Regions from separate parts of the Homo sapiens genome. Here regions 2, 3 and 4 are each linked to region 1. Evidence: promoter capture Hi-C in 16 types of primary human blood cells and fetal thymus (Javierre and others, 2016). All regions are on one chromosome and are shown on one strand. Each heading gives the region's core, a stretch centred on a gene start or on the middle of the fragment in contact. The rest is flanking DNA. Distances are from core to core; before and after follow the strand shown.

The links. Contacts are between HindIII fragments. The CHiCAGO score rates a contact against its expected background, and 5 or more counts as called.
Region 2: a contact is called between a fragment that was not itself captured here and the fragment with the promoter of PAFAH1B2 in region 1, in 1 of 17 cell types (erythroblasts). The highest score is 5.1, in erythroblasts.
Region 3: a contact is called between a fragment that was not itself captured here and the fragment with the promoter of PAFAH1B2 in region 1, in 17 of 17 cell types (total CD8 T cells, naive CD8 T cells, naive CD4 T cells and 14 more). The highest score is 23.1, in total CD8 T cells.
Region 4: a contact is called between a fragment that was not itself captured here and the fragment with the promoter of PAFAH1B2 in region 1, in 16 of 17 cell types (total B cells, total CD8 T cells, naive B cells and 13 more). The highest score is 15.1, in total B cells.

The regions. Positions count from the first base shown.
Region 1 is chr11:117,142,759-117,146,000 of GRCh38, forward strand. It overlaps PAFAH1B2 (platelet activating factor acetylhydrolase 1b catalytic subunit 2), which reads left to right and starts at 1,529. Exons shown (of 6, transcript NM_002572.4): 1 at 1,529-1,660. RefSeq lists a silencer at 1,739-2,058 and an enhancer at 2,609-2,788. The HindIII fragment of the contact is 2,379 bases long and covers 890-3,242 here.
Region 2 is chr11:116,722,794-116,726,035 of GRCh38, forward strand. No RefSeq gene overlaps it. Among named protein-coding and RNA genes, the nearest start is that of BUD13, 49 kb to the right of the region's middle. The HindIII fragment of the contact is 6,964 bases long and covers 1-3,242 here.
Region 3 is chr11:116,851,977-116,855,218 of GRCh38, forward strand. The region is part of intron 21 of SIK3 (SIK family kinase 3); the gene reads right to left. It also overlaps APOA1-AS. Among named protein-coding and RNA genes, the nearest start is that of APOA1, 16 kb to the left of the region's middle. RefSeq lists a silencer at 983-1,052. The HindIII fragment of the contact is 5,012 bases long and covers 1-3,242 here.
Region 4 is chr11:116,886,083-116,889,324 of GRCh38, forward strand. All of the region lies in intron 6 of SIK3 (SIK family kinase 3), which reads right to left. Among named protein-coding and RNA genes, the nearest start is that of APOA1, 50 kb to the left of the region's middle. The HindIII fragment of the contact is 2,346 bases long and covers 376-2,721 here.

The sequences.
Region 1 (3,242 bases), core at 279-2,778:
TTAGAATGGCGATCATTAAAAAGTCAGGAAACAACAGATGCTGGAGAGGATGTGGAGAAAGAGGAACACTTTTACACTGTTGGAGGGAGTGTAAATTAATTCAACCATTGTGAAAGACAGTGTGGCGATTCCTCAAGGATCTAGAACTAGAAATACCATTTGACCCAGCCATCCCATTACTGGGTATATACCCAAAGGATTATAAATCATGCTGCTATAAAGATACATGCACACGTATGTTTATTGTGGCACTATTCACAATAGCAAAGACTTGGAACCAACCCAAATGTCCATCAATGATAGACTGGATTAAGAAAATGTGGCACATATACACCACGAAATACTATGCAGCTGTAAAAAGGATGAGTTCATATCCTTTGCAGGGACATGGACGAAACTGGAAACCATCATTCTCAGCAAACTATCACAAGGACAGAAAACCAAACACCGCATGTTCTCATAGGTGGGAATTGAACACTGAGAACACTTGGACAAAGGGCGGGGAACATCACACACGGGGGCCTGTCGGGGACTGCGGGGCTGGGGGAGGGATAGCATTAGGAGAAATACGGAATGTAAATGACGAGTTGATGGGTGCAGCAAACCAACATGGCACACGTATACCTATGTAACAAACCTGCACGTTGTGCACATGTACCCTAGAACTTGAATAAAAAAAAAAAAAAAAAAGAAAAATTACTTGACATATCTTGACATTTTAGGCTCCCAGGATTTTACAGTATTCTTAACAGGTTTTGTCAGCAAAATCAACCCCCACCCCCGCATCAGTTTAAGAGCCCTGGAAGGCTCTGCCTATTCACCAGCATAGAGCTGAGATCCTTAAAGGGCCAGTTCAGGGCACTGCTCCAGCAACCGTTGCGCTGCTATAAGCTTGAGCACATCTCTTGCCCCTCCTCTCTACTTTTATAGATCCTGCATTTATTTAGCATATAATCTTTTCAATATTGACTTTGTATATGTATGTCTTCCCCTAAACTGGATGTATCTTTTAAGGAAAAGCCTGGGGTTCGTCATCCCCCTATGTATCACCTTTACAGGCGGTCACCCAAAATCTCCACATTCATCATAGAAACAGAAATTCCACTAATAAATGTCAGGTACTGCCTCCTTAACCTTGGTCCGCTATTTCCCTCCCACTTTCAGCAGTCTGGTTTATTCCATGGGTGGAAGAGGAAGCCAAGTTGGCTGAGTGTGAAGGGAATGGCGTCAGTGTGACTTCACGCCACATCGTCCCGAATGCCAGCTCCACACTGCGGTGGCACGAACGCAGGATTGAGAGATGCAGCTGGAGTAAAGAGAGAAGCCCATGTCCCTCAGACGCCACACAAAATGGGGGTAACCGCGAGAACAAAGCAGGGTACCCAACGGGGTGTGGCGGGACACCTGGGCGCACGCCGCCAGCGCCCGGGAGAGCGAAGGCGGGGAGAGAGGAACCACGCTGAGGCGTGGCAGGATGGGGGCGGGACTTCCGGAAGCCATTTGGCTGAGTGGCAGGGGAACCGGAAGTGGAGGAGCTGCTGCTGGTGCTGGGGCCGGAGGAGGGACGCGCCGGAGCGGGACCGACGGGACCGAGCGAGCGACCGACGCGCCACCCGCCGACGCCTCAGCCGCTTGGGGCCCGCACGGACCCTCTACTTCAGTGAGTGCATCCAGGGTCGCAGGGAACCGGTGGCTTAGAGGCGGGGGTCGGAAGGGGCTGCGAGGTGTTATTGTGAGAGGCCCGCGACCTCCCCTCCCCCACCCTTGCGGCCCCTCCCCCCACGCCGCCCCATCCACTTGGGGGGGGCCTCGCGAGCGCGCGCCTTCTCTGCGGGCCCAGCGTCGGCTTCCCAGCAGCCGGCGCAGCTAGTTTTCGCTCTGAGAGCCCTTTCCCGATATTCCATACCGAAAGCTGGCGTTTCTCCTCAGCCGCCGGCCGGCGCCTCCACGGCCTTTCCCAGGAGGGTAGCGCGGCGGGCGCCCCGCCCCGCCCTGCCCTGCCCTGCCCTGCCGGGCCCACCCGCGGTAGGCCTTGCGCACCCCAGCTCGCCCCGGCTGGGCGCTGCAGCTCCTGCCCGGGTCTCCGCTGCTGCCTTTTCCCTTTATCACAGGGGTCTAACTTCTCACTCTTCTCTCCCCTCGCGTCTGGTCGGAGGCCAAAACCAGTTACTCCGTTGTGTTTTTACCGAGCACTTTTCCCTCCTCCTTTTGTTGAAAAATTTCAACTCTTTAGAAACTTCTCCGTTGCCTCTTAGGATGTGTTTATTCAAAAGTTGCATAGACCGTCACCACTCGGAAGGGATTATTTCTTGGAAGGCTTTCCAGCCCCCATCTCATCTTAGACATGAATGTGCTCGGAGCGGCTGGTGACCTGCCCAAGGTCAGCCAGCTAGATAAACCTGTCAGCGGAGAGGTTTGGGGGGATGTTTTTTTCCTGGCTCACCGTCCGTTTGCCAGATCCGTGCCTTCTGGTCTACAGGTTTGATTGACCCGTTGCGTGGTGACTCATGCTTCTGCTTTTCATAGCTCGCAGGCCAGCGTTGCTTTTCAGAATTTATACACAAACAAGAACTAACACTCGGAGCTTTCGCCTCTTTGTAGAGCTTACCCGTAGAGAAAGGAAAGACCACCCGGATCCACCCTAGGACCTCATTTTGTACAGCTTGAAATTATGGGAAGGGGTTGGGCCGGGGGTAAAGGTGTGGAGAAAGTGGAAGGAGAAAGTGCTTAATTAAGATTGTCTTTGCCTTGGATGTGCCTTGTGTCTTTGGCTTCTTCTGGGCACATTGTTCTGACATAAAGGTTGCCTCCTTGTGGGGGAGAAGGGGAGGATTAGTTTGTTGGCTTGGGCATTTGATCATAAATTATGGAGGTGCTGGACCGGAGGAACCACCCACCAGCCCACGGAGGCTACCGGGCATTCAGGATAAGGGCCGCCTTCTTCTTCAGAATAACCATACCCACTCCCTCTGAAACAAAGTGGAGAGTCTTAGGTCTGAGTGGAAACTCTAAATCTTTTAATTCTTGGTTCAACTTTCTTCATCTGTTTTCCTGGTTCAGACTAAAACATCTAACTCAGCTGGAGAAGTTATAACGCTTTGTTGTTGGACGTGGTTTCTCATTAAATACATTGCACTATGCTGGTATAAGCACTTGGAAATTCTAGTGCTGTATTGTCATAGTAAGTAGAGAATATAGAAAAGGCAGGAAAATCGTGCAAGTCGGTTACTCCTCGTCTTCCC
Region 2 (3,242 bases), core at 268-2,767, 420 kb before region 1:
ACTCTAAAATCCCCTGTCCTCTAAGAAAAAGGGCAGGGGAACAGGGATCTCCTTGCCACGCCTTCTAGGAGTTAATCCCACAAGGAAGGAGCCTCCTTGGGAACCAGGCCATAGGGAGTGGCCCCCCAGTTGCCTGGGCTAAGATCCCATGGGCAAGGGAGGTCACCTCTTAGAAGAAATCCTATCAACCCTTCATGACCTGGCTCCCGCTTCTCTTTCCAGCTGCCTCCTCATTCTCCCTGTGTTTCATCCCTATCAAGGCACTGCCCATTCCCCAGCAGCCACAGCCTCTCATGCTTCCTGCCATCCCTCCTGCCTTCAGGCCTTCCTACACTCCATCTTAGCAGCCTAGGGAGCTCCTCCTGTTTCATCAGTGCCCAGTTTAAATACCCCTCCTCTGGAAAACCTGCCCTGACTGCCCACACCCTACAAGATTAGGTATTTTTTTTCCCCTACGCTCTGCACAGTTTGTGTTGTAATTATTTGTTTACTTCACTGAGACAATGAGCTCCTTGAAGGCAGGAACCATTATCTTTCTTCAGCTTTGTATCACTAAGACCTGGGCTAGACTTTAAAAGTCTGTCTAACGAATACATATTTGAACTAAAAAGATCACAGATACCTCGTCTAGATGCCTGACTCTTGACAAATGTCTAAACTGTTCAGAATGAGACATTTATTCCCTTCCTGACTGTATCTCCAATCCCTGCGATTGAGAAGCAGTGGGGATGGGAGACGTGACCCTCAGCAGGGTGAGTTTCTAGGATCGTGAGCCCAAAGGCCCCGGGTAGTTCCTAACAGGGAGGTGCCTCGGGCTGAGCAGCTGCTGCTGCTCCATGGCAAAGGCTTGCGGTGCTGGAGAGAGCCACAGGCTCTCTTCCCCAGGTCGGGGGCCCAGGTGACCCATCCAGTTGTTGTGCAGGAATATGGAGGGGCTGAAGGGATCCCAGTACCTCTGGACTTCCACAGCAGCCGGGCCCCTTAGAGCATGCCACACAGCCAGCCACAGCCCTGCCTGCCCACCACAAGGGCCTCCCACCCAGCATCCTCTCCTCTCCTGCCCACCCTCTCCTGCTCCCCCAAACCTGCTGACCCCTGGTGGCTTTAGCCTTCCTTGAGAGAGCCAGAAGGGAGAGCATCCATTTTAAATTAACAAGGTTATTAGCAGTTAATTACCTGAGGTATCATTGTAATTGAAAAGAAAAAGAGAGAAGAGAAGCTCATAAACCCAACCCTTTCTTTTCACCATCCCTGGGGTGGTGCGGGTGACCCCGGCCCCCTCCCCACAATAGGGCCCTGCACACACCATTGTCCTTTCTTTCTCCATGTTCCTCCACCTGCCCCCACTTCACAGGGATATTGAGGAGAGGGAACCAGACCCAAGGAGAGCAAGCCACCCGCCCCGCAGGCACTTCAGGGATGCTGAGACACACTTGGAGTCCATAAATGCAGAGAGATTTATCTCATATTGGGGTGTGCAGGGAGGAGGCACAAATCTGAAGCCTTTAGTCAATATTTTTAGTGATTTTTTTTTCCCCTAGATTGTCCTGTTATTCTACAAGTTAGTATGGCTGGCATCTGTCAGCATTAATGATGTTTAGTCCCAAATTCACTGCAACCAGAGATCACAGACCATCTCCCCTCCCTCCTCCCCACTGCCACCCACCCCTGCCCTGAGGACACTGGGCTGCAGGGAGGGGAAGGGGTGCAGAGAGAACACAGAAGACCCCTCCCTCAGGCTGGCCATGTGAACTCCAGCACTTGCTGAAGAGCTCCTGAGGCAAGGATGCCACATGCCAACAGTTCTTGGGTTCGTGTCCTGTCACTGAGACTTCACAGAAGGAGCCCCAGACTCACGGAGTCCGTGAAGTAACCCACCTATAACCCTCACAGCAGCCTCCCATTCTCCCCAAACTCTTCCCTGCCTAGGGTACACCAGAAGGAGGAGCATAACCCAAGAGAGCCAAGAATCCCCCCAAAAAAAATCTCCCCCAAAGGCAAGCAGTAGGTGCAGGTGGCCCACACCCCCTGGCCAGTGGCCTTAGCAGCACTGCTGGGTGTCTGGTGTGGAGGGCAGTGTGGGGGCTGGACGGGTGAGCCCGAGTAGGAAGGCAGCACCCCCAGCTCCTTCATGCCTCTGAGATGCCCTGACTCCTGCCATACCCAGCCACCCTCCCTGTCCTCCTTCCCCCTGCCCCCTTTTCCTTTCCTCTGTAAGGCCCTGGCTCCCTCGCTTAGGCCAAGTCCTCTCTCCTCTGCTACCTACTTTCCTGGGCAGCACTCAGCCCCTCAGTAGTCAGCATTGTCAGGAGCAGACCCCTCACCTCCCTCTCAACCTTCTGGAAGCAACAAGGACAGACAGCAAAGCTGGGGAAGGGCAGAGCGCACAGAAAGCCCACACATAATCGCATATGTGCGCCAGTGTGATTGTATGAAGCATCATGTACATAACAGAAAATGGCATTCTCATGTTAGCCTTTTCAATTGAGCATTTACCATGTGACAGGTAAGTAACATTATTAGCCACATTTTATAAATGGAGAAATCAGGGTTCAGAGACCCTAAGTGATATGTCCAAGAATGAGATAGAGAAGGACATGAACCTAGGCAGTCTGTCTCCAAACTGCCTAACCCCTCCATTAATATGCCTTCCAACAATGTCTGCCGTGGTGGGGGTGGGGGTGAGGGTGGGGAGGAGATGGTCAGGAGTCAAGGTGCGTTTCAACTTTCCCCTCCCCACTCCGTGTGGGAGGCTGCTGCTCGACACAGCACCAGAGAGAGCCCTTCCTCTTCTCCCTGACAGGCTGAGGAACAAGGGGCAGAGTCCTTGCTAGGGAGGCCAAGCCACCGGGCACCGTCTCCCCGACCAGGGCCCTCACCCAGGGCGCTGGACCTCATCCTCCCTGTCCAGCTCCCTGCCCTTCCGTCCACACTCCCAAGGGCAAAGGGACCCCGCCGGGTCAGGGAAAGGAAAGAACCAGCCTTGCTCCCCTGTTTCCCCACCTGCAGAGTGGCTCCATCGCCCCACCTGCTGAGTCAGCGCTGTTCAGAGTCCCCTGGCACTAGCAAGGTCACCCATGCCAGGGAAGGCAGCCAGTGGGAGAGCAGCAGCGAGTGTGGGAAAGGGGCAGAAAGGCGGATGTACAACCCAGGACCTGGAGTTTGAGGTTGTGCCCAGGGCTGAGGGCAGGCCCAGGAGGGAGCCCAGAACCCTGAGGCCGGCCCTGGAACTGGGTCATCTG
Region 3 (3,242 bases), core at 536-3,035, 290 kb before region 1:
GCTTTTTTCCTTTAAGCCTGATTATATAGTTGGATGCAAATCTCATCAGTTGCATCTCTTTGCTCTCCGCAAGGACAAACATGAGCGCTCTCCTGTTTAAAGATTTTTAAAACATCATTACTAACCATGAGGAAACAGCAAAGCTAACAAAATGTATATAGTCCTGGTTGGAGCCTTCCTGCCTCTTCTGGAGGCCTCAGTGTTTTGGTTTGTTTGCTGTGTCTTTTAAGGCTCTTTTCCTTCCCTCTCTCAGACTTGTTTTTATCCCTGAGAATGGGGCCTCTGCAAACCAAAACACCCACCCTCCTTTGGGCTCTGCCTTGTCTGCTGTCTTCCCCGCCTTCAGGTCTGATGCCTGTAGGCACCAAGACAGAGCAAGCAACCACCTGACAAATCATGTAGGGGGCCTTCCTGACTCCCAGCCCAGAGCTCATCCCTCAGCCAAGCTGGAGTTGAGCACAAGGGTCATGAGCACAAGTTCTGGGGTCAGGAAGAGTTGGCCGTGAATCCTGGCTTAGCTGCTTCCTGAGGAGCAGGAGCTCGGGCAAGTTATCTTGCTTTGCTGGGTCTTAGTTATCTGTACAACTGGACTGACTCCATGGGTGTGGAGTGCTTCATAGAGGTTACTACACTGTAAAGGCTCAATAAAGTCTAGCATGATTTATATTCAGTTTAGAGATGTTATTTCTGAGTGCATAAGGACGTGCTGAGTCAGCTGACAAAAACAAACAAGGAAATTGATTTAATCACAGAACCCTGCTTGCAGAATTATGAGGGACAATATACCCATATGTAAATGAACAAATGACTCAGGGAAACTTTAATTTCCAGGAGAAGCCTCTGATTCAGGACAGACAAATGTCAGTTAAAAGCCAGATGAAAAAGAGTATTAATAGGAGTCAGGGGATACCCCAGGGCTCTGTCTGCTCAAGTTTCAGTATCATCAGTAGGTCAAAGACCTGGAAGGGCTAGCATCTTTCACTTGGCAGCTGTGCTTGGAGGGTGCAGAGTGGGCAAGGAGGCGTAAAGGAAAAAATACATGACCAGGGGATCAGAAAACTTGAAGTCAGGACCCAGCTCCCTCACCAGCAAAGTGTTGGCAAATCTTTCAGCTTCTCCTCAAGGTTCCTGATCTGAAAAATGACGGTTGTTTGGGGGCTCGAAAAGACAACACATGTGAAAGAGTCTTTAATCAACTGTAAAAGACCAAATAAGTCAAGTCTGATTTTTGGTAAGAATGCTGACCCTGAGTCTAGAAGTCCTTTGTGACACTCTATAAATAAGACCCTATCGACCATTTTGGGGGGTACAAACAGACTAACCCACTGCCCAAGGAACATGACATTCAGGATCAAATCTTTGGCAACCCTTTATGCCAATTCAGCAGCTACCAAAGTCATGGAGGAAAGATGGTTCCCAAGAGCTACATGCTCGAATATTTATCAAACTAAAGCTAAGAGAGTGCAGAGGTGGGATGATCGTCCGATCACACAAGGGGAAAAGTGCACAAATGGACACAATGCACGCCACCCACCTTCCCGGGGAACTTTGGGGCAACCTGCACAATTCTCTATTGAATCTGTCAATGTTGACTCGTCCTGACTCACTTACTGGGTTTTGAGAGAAAATGGGAGCAATAACGTGACTGCATACTCCCCTTAAAGGTTCTGGGGTAACCCCTCCCACTCTGTCAGCATTTTACTGCTCTATGAGGCCTGAGTAATAAAGCTGAGGCTGACTGAGCTCAGAGAAGAGGATGTGGTTTTCTTTGTGAGTTCCAGTTGGTAATCTCATGGTGTAGATTGGTTATGCTGCTGTGTTTATTTGCAAAGTCAAAAAGATCAAGTGTGTGTACCACTATAGAAGAAAGACAAACCTTGTTTTTCCTTCTAGGGTGGCAGGCAGGGAGATTACGGACAGCATGGGGCATGTGAAATCCTGACACTTCTACAAATTGGGAAGAAACCTTTGGCATGCTGCCTGCTTAGTGCTCTCACAGTGCCTGGCCTCATACTGGCTGGTGGCAAATCGCCATCAAGGAAATAGGTAACCATGGACACTGATATGATGGCATCTAATTTTCCTTTACTAATACCAATATGGCTGGGTGTGGTGGCTCATGCCTGTAATACCAGCATTTTGGGAGGCCAAGAAGGGAGGATTGTTTGAGCCCAGGAGTTCAAGATCAGCCCCGGCGACATAGCAAGACCCCATCTATACCAAAGGAAAAAAAAAATTAGCTGGGTGTAGTGGCACGCGCCTGTAGTCCCAGCTGCTCAGGAGGTTGAGGTGGGAGGACTGCTTGAGCCCAGGAGGTCGAGGCTGCAGTGAACCGTGGTTGCACCACTGCACTCTAGCCTAGGTGACAGAGCAAGACCCTGACTCAAAAAGTAACTAAATAACACCAACAATCCCTGTTCATCTACCCTTAAGAAATGCTAAGAAGATCACACTAGCTCTGCTCTTCTCAGTGATACTTCTTGCAGCACTCAGTACCTAGCACTTCATAGCAAAGCTGTTTATGAGCTTGTTTTACATCCCCTAGTAGAGTAGAAGCTCCCTGAGGACAGGTTATCCTTTCATCTCTGCATTCTCACAGCACCTACAGTAGAGTCTTGTGCAACACAGTTGAGATGGAGGGACCATTAAAAGAAACAGCAGGCATTCCTTCCTGGCAAAAAGGTTGAGAAGAGTGAGCTCCCCCACTTGCCTGCAGAGTGGTGGGGGCACAGCATTATAAGCCTTTCGTGACAGAAGTGAACAGCAAATTATCTGATGATTTTTTCAGTAAAGTAAAAATGTAAGCTCTGGAGTTTTTAAAAGAAACCTGAAAGCCAGGCATGGTGGCTCATGCCTGTAATCCCAGCACTTTGTGAGGCCGAGGTGGTTGGATCACTTGAAGTCAGGAGTTCAAGACCAGCCTGGCCAACATGGTGAAACCCCGTCTCTACAAAAAAAAATTAGCCGGGTGCGGTAGTGCACACCTGTAATCCTAGCTACTTAGGAGGCTGAGGCAGGAGAATCGCTTGAACCCAGGAGGGGTAGGTTGCAGTGAGCCGAGATCGTGCCACTGCACTCCAGCATGGGTGACAGTGTGAGACTCTGCCAAAAAAAAAAAAAAAAAAAAAAAAAACTTGAGTTTTTTTCACAGTACAGCTGAATCTAGACGATGCATTTTAGAAAACCTCTGTCCTTAGCTTCTACTAATGCCTTCATGTACACTGTACTTCAAACCAGCCAAG
Region 4 (3,242 bases), core at 299-2,798, 260 kb before region 1:
GCTAATAATAAATAGGGCAGTACCACTATTTATCTACTGGTTTTTAGTTATGTTAGGTCATGGGAATGAACACGGCTGGCCTGTTTCACTCTGAAGTAGTTCTTAACCTCTTTTCTGACATCAGCTGTGATTTCTACATTCACTGACATGAAAGCACTACATAGATTTTTCTCTCTGGCGGTGCAGTGTGTCTCAAAAGGTATGAGAAAACTGCTTTGAGGACTCTGAGCCCCTCGGTATATGGAGACTTGGTGGGTGAGCCAATTTAATCCCTTGCCCCATTGGTTCTAAACAAAGTGCTTTTAGCCAAGCAAGATGCTGTGTGGTTCTTGATGAGTAAGCCTATCAGGGCAGAGTTGTTTGCCTCTAAGTAGAAGCTTTTTGGCAGTAGCTGCAGGTTACATTCTCCATCAGAAGCATTATGTAAGCCTGGGTTTTGCGTTCCCAGTAATAAAATGCTCATGCAGTATTACAATTAATTAAGTCACAATGAAGTCTAATCAATAAAGACTCAAAAATATTGTCCACAAGAGATCTCTATGCCTTCACTAACGCTGCAGTTTTTTCACTGTAAATTAATTTTCCTTCAGTTAAATAAACGATCTTAGTATGTCTGCTAGCAGGTGGTACAACAGGGGAATAGGGTAAACTAGGCTTTAAGTATGTTGTTAAAAAAATATATTGAATGAATCTGGTGCTCAAAAAATTTAAGTTATTTGCATCCATCGGTGGAAGGGCAGATCAGAGGAAATATTTGCCAACACATGAAGCCAGGCCAGGTTTCACCTTCCACAACAGCTCAAGAAAACAGCAAGTTTCAACTTTTAATCCTTCTATAATTTAGACTCAGGGTTTTATCAAACTGCTCTTTGGGATGCTCTGAGAAGTTTAATCCAAAAACACTGGCCTGGATCAAACTTATTTTACTTAAGGAATAGGAAGCAAACTCTACAGTAGATCAAAACACCCTTTTACACCTAAAAGTCATTTGACTTGGTCACCTTCACAATAACTCATATAACAAAACTACATAAAACCATGGCTGGGCGTGATGGCTCACGCCTATGATCCCAGCATTTTGGGAGGCAGAGCCAGGCGGATTGCTTGAACCTAGGAGTTCAAGACCAGCCTGGGCAACATGATGAAAATCTTGTCTCTACACTAAAAAAAAAAAAAAAAAAAAAGTATATAAAACCAAGTGGTTTGATGAATAAATAATTTAGATCATGTTAATAATATAATACAAGAGTCTGGCAGGGCACGGTGGCTCACGTCTGTAATCCCAGCACTTTGGGAAGCCGAGGCGGGCAGATCACTTGAGGCCAGGAGTTCAAGACCAGCCTGGCCAACATGACGAGACCCCGTCTCCACTAAAAATACAAAAATTAGCTGGGTGTGGTGGCACGCACCTGTAGTCCCAGCCACCCAGGAGGCTGAGGCAAGAGAATCACTTGAACCCAGGAGGCGGAAGTTGCCGTGAGCTGAGGTCGCACCACTGCACTCCAGCCTGGGCGGCAAAATCTGTCTCCCAAAAAAAAAAAAAAACAAGAGTCTGATATAAGATTCCATAGTTAAGTAGTGATGACTCAGTTTTTCATTCAAAAACACTTACTGAATGCTTATGTCTTACCAGGGGCTGTCAGGTTTTATGGAAGGTATTGAGTGTAAAACACAGCTCTGATAATCAAGAGGCTTACATTCTAGTGGGGAGAGGAGGAAGACACATACATAATTATAAAAACTAGGTGGTATACAATCAACCTAGCCTCAAATAAATCCTCTTTTAAATGTATGCCACTGTCATTCCAACTTGAAAATATATGTCTTTAGTACATCTCAGGATGCCTATGAAAGGAAACTTGTGTCAAACAAACAACACCAGGCATAGAAATATACATGAATTGTGAGGATACTTCATTCCACACATTACTGACAATAGAGAGCAGCTTAGAATTCTTGAGCTAACTATATCCATTTGCAGAGCATGGCCTCCCACACAGCTGTATGTAGCTACTCTGGAATTCAACTTGGCTAGAAGCAGCTACATGGTAGAGGCTTTGCCCTCTGGTCTTCCAAGTGATCATTTAGAACACTATACCAGCTCTGCTGGAGTTTCTAGACCCTTCAGGAAGAAAAACAGATAAACTCAGCTCAAGCCTATGACAACAGCTGAGAAAAGGAAGGATCTTGTGCATAAGGAATTCTCTCAATCACGCTATCTCCCGTAATACAGCAATAGCAGCTGGCCTCACAGGCTGAAAAGCAGCCAGCACTCGCCTCCATCAGAAGACTATGCTCCAGGTCTACTGAGATACAACTGTGCCCAGAAACACGAGGCGTAAGCAGAAAAAGGACTCTGGGACAGACTCTAAACTTCCTTCACCTGACACTTTCTGGTACTTGAAGGTTGTCTAAGCTAAGAAAAGCCTAAATAACCGATGAATTCATTTTCTGCTATGCCTTATCCTTTTGAAGTATTCTCTAATGGGCCTTGGGATTTAGGCCTATGACATTCAGCAATGCCAAGCACATGTATATTACCAAGGGCCAGAGAGATCATATTGGTAATATAGCAAGTATCTACTGACTTCCTACCCTGGTTGTTTCTCATTCTCTGTACTAATCATACAAAAACTTGTATTGCTACTTAGGGAATTATTTAACTGGGATTAAAGAGCGACTACGTTTAGGATAATCCTGTTGGCTTTCTCTGAGTCTTGAAGCTTTCAGGTTAACTAACATCATATTACAAATAATAGTTCTAAGCAGTTAGACTGTTAGTTTATTTCTAAGCACTAATAGACAGTGTGGCTGACAGCATGCTTAGCTGTTTTCTAGGACCCCCTATCTGAAGCCGGCTCCGGGAAGGGTTCAGTAAGAATCTCTTGCCATGGTGTGAGGTGATGGGGGTGGAGGATAGAAAAGATCCAAGTTGCTCACAGGAAACACTGTGGACATTGGAAAAGTAAAGGAAGTGGTTTATCTTGCTCTTTTTGCAACAGTATGGTGTAGTAAAACAAACACTAAATTTGAATACTGACCTAGTTACTTATTACCTGTGTGGCTTTGGCAAGTTAACTCATTTCTCTAAACTTCAGCTTCCAAAACTTCATCAGCAAGATGATAAAATATGTGCTATTACCTATTCTAAAATATAGTTATGTAGCTCAAATTAGATTAAGTAAAAGAAAATAATTTAGGTTGCGTATGCTGGCTTCTGCCCATAATCCCAGCACTCTGGG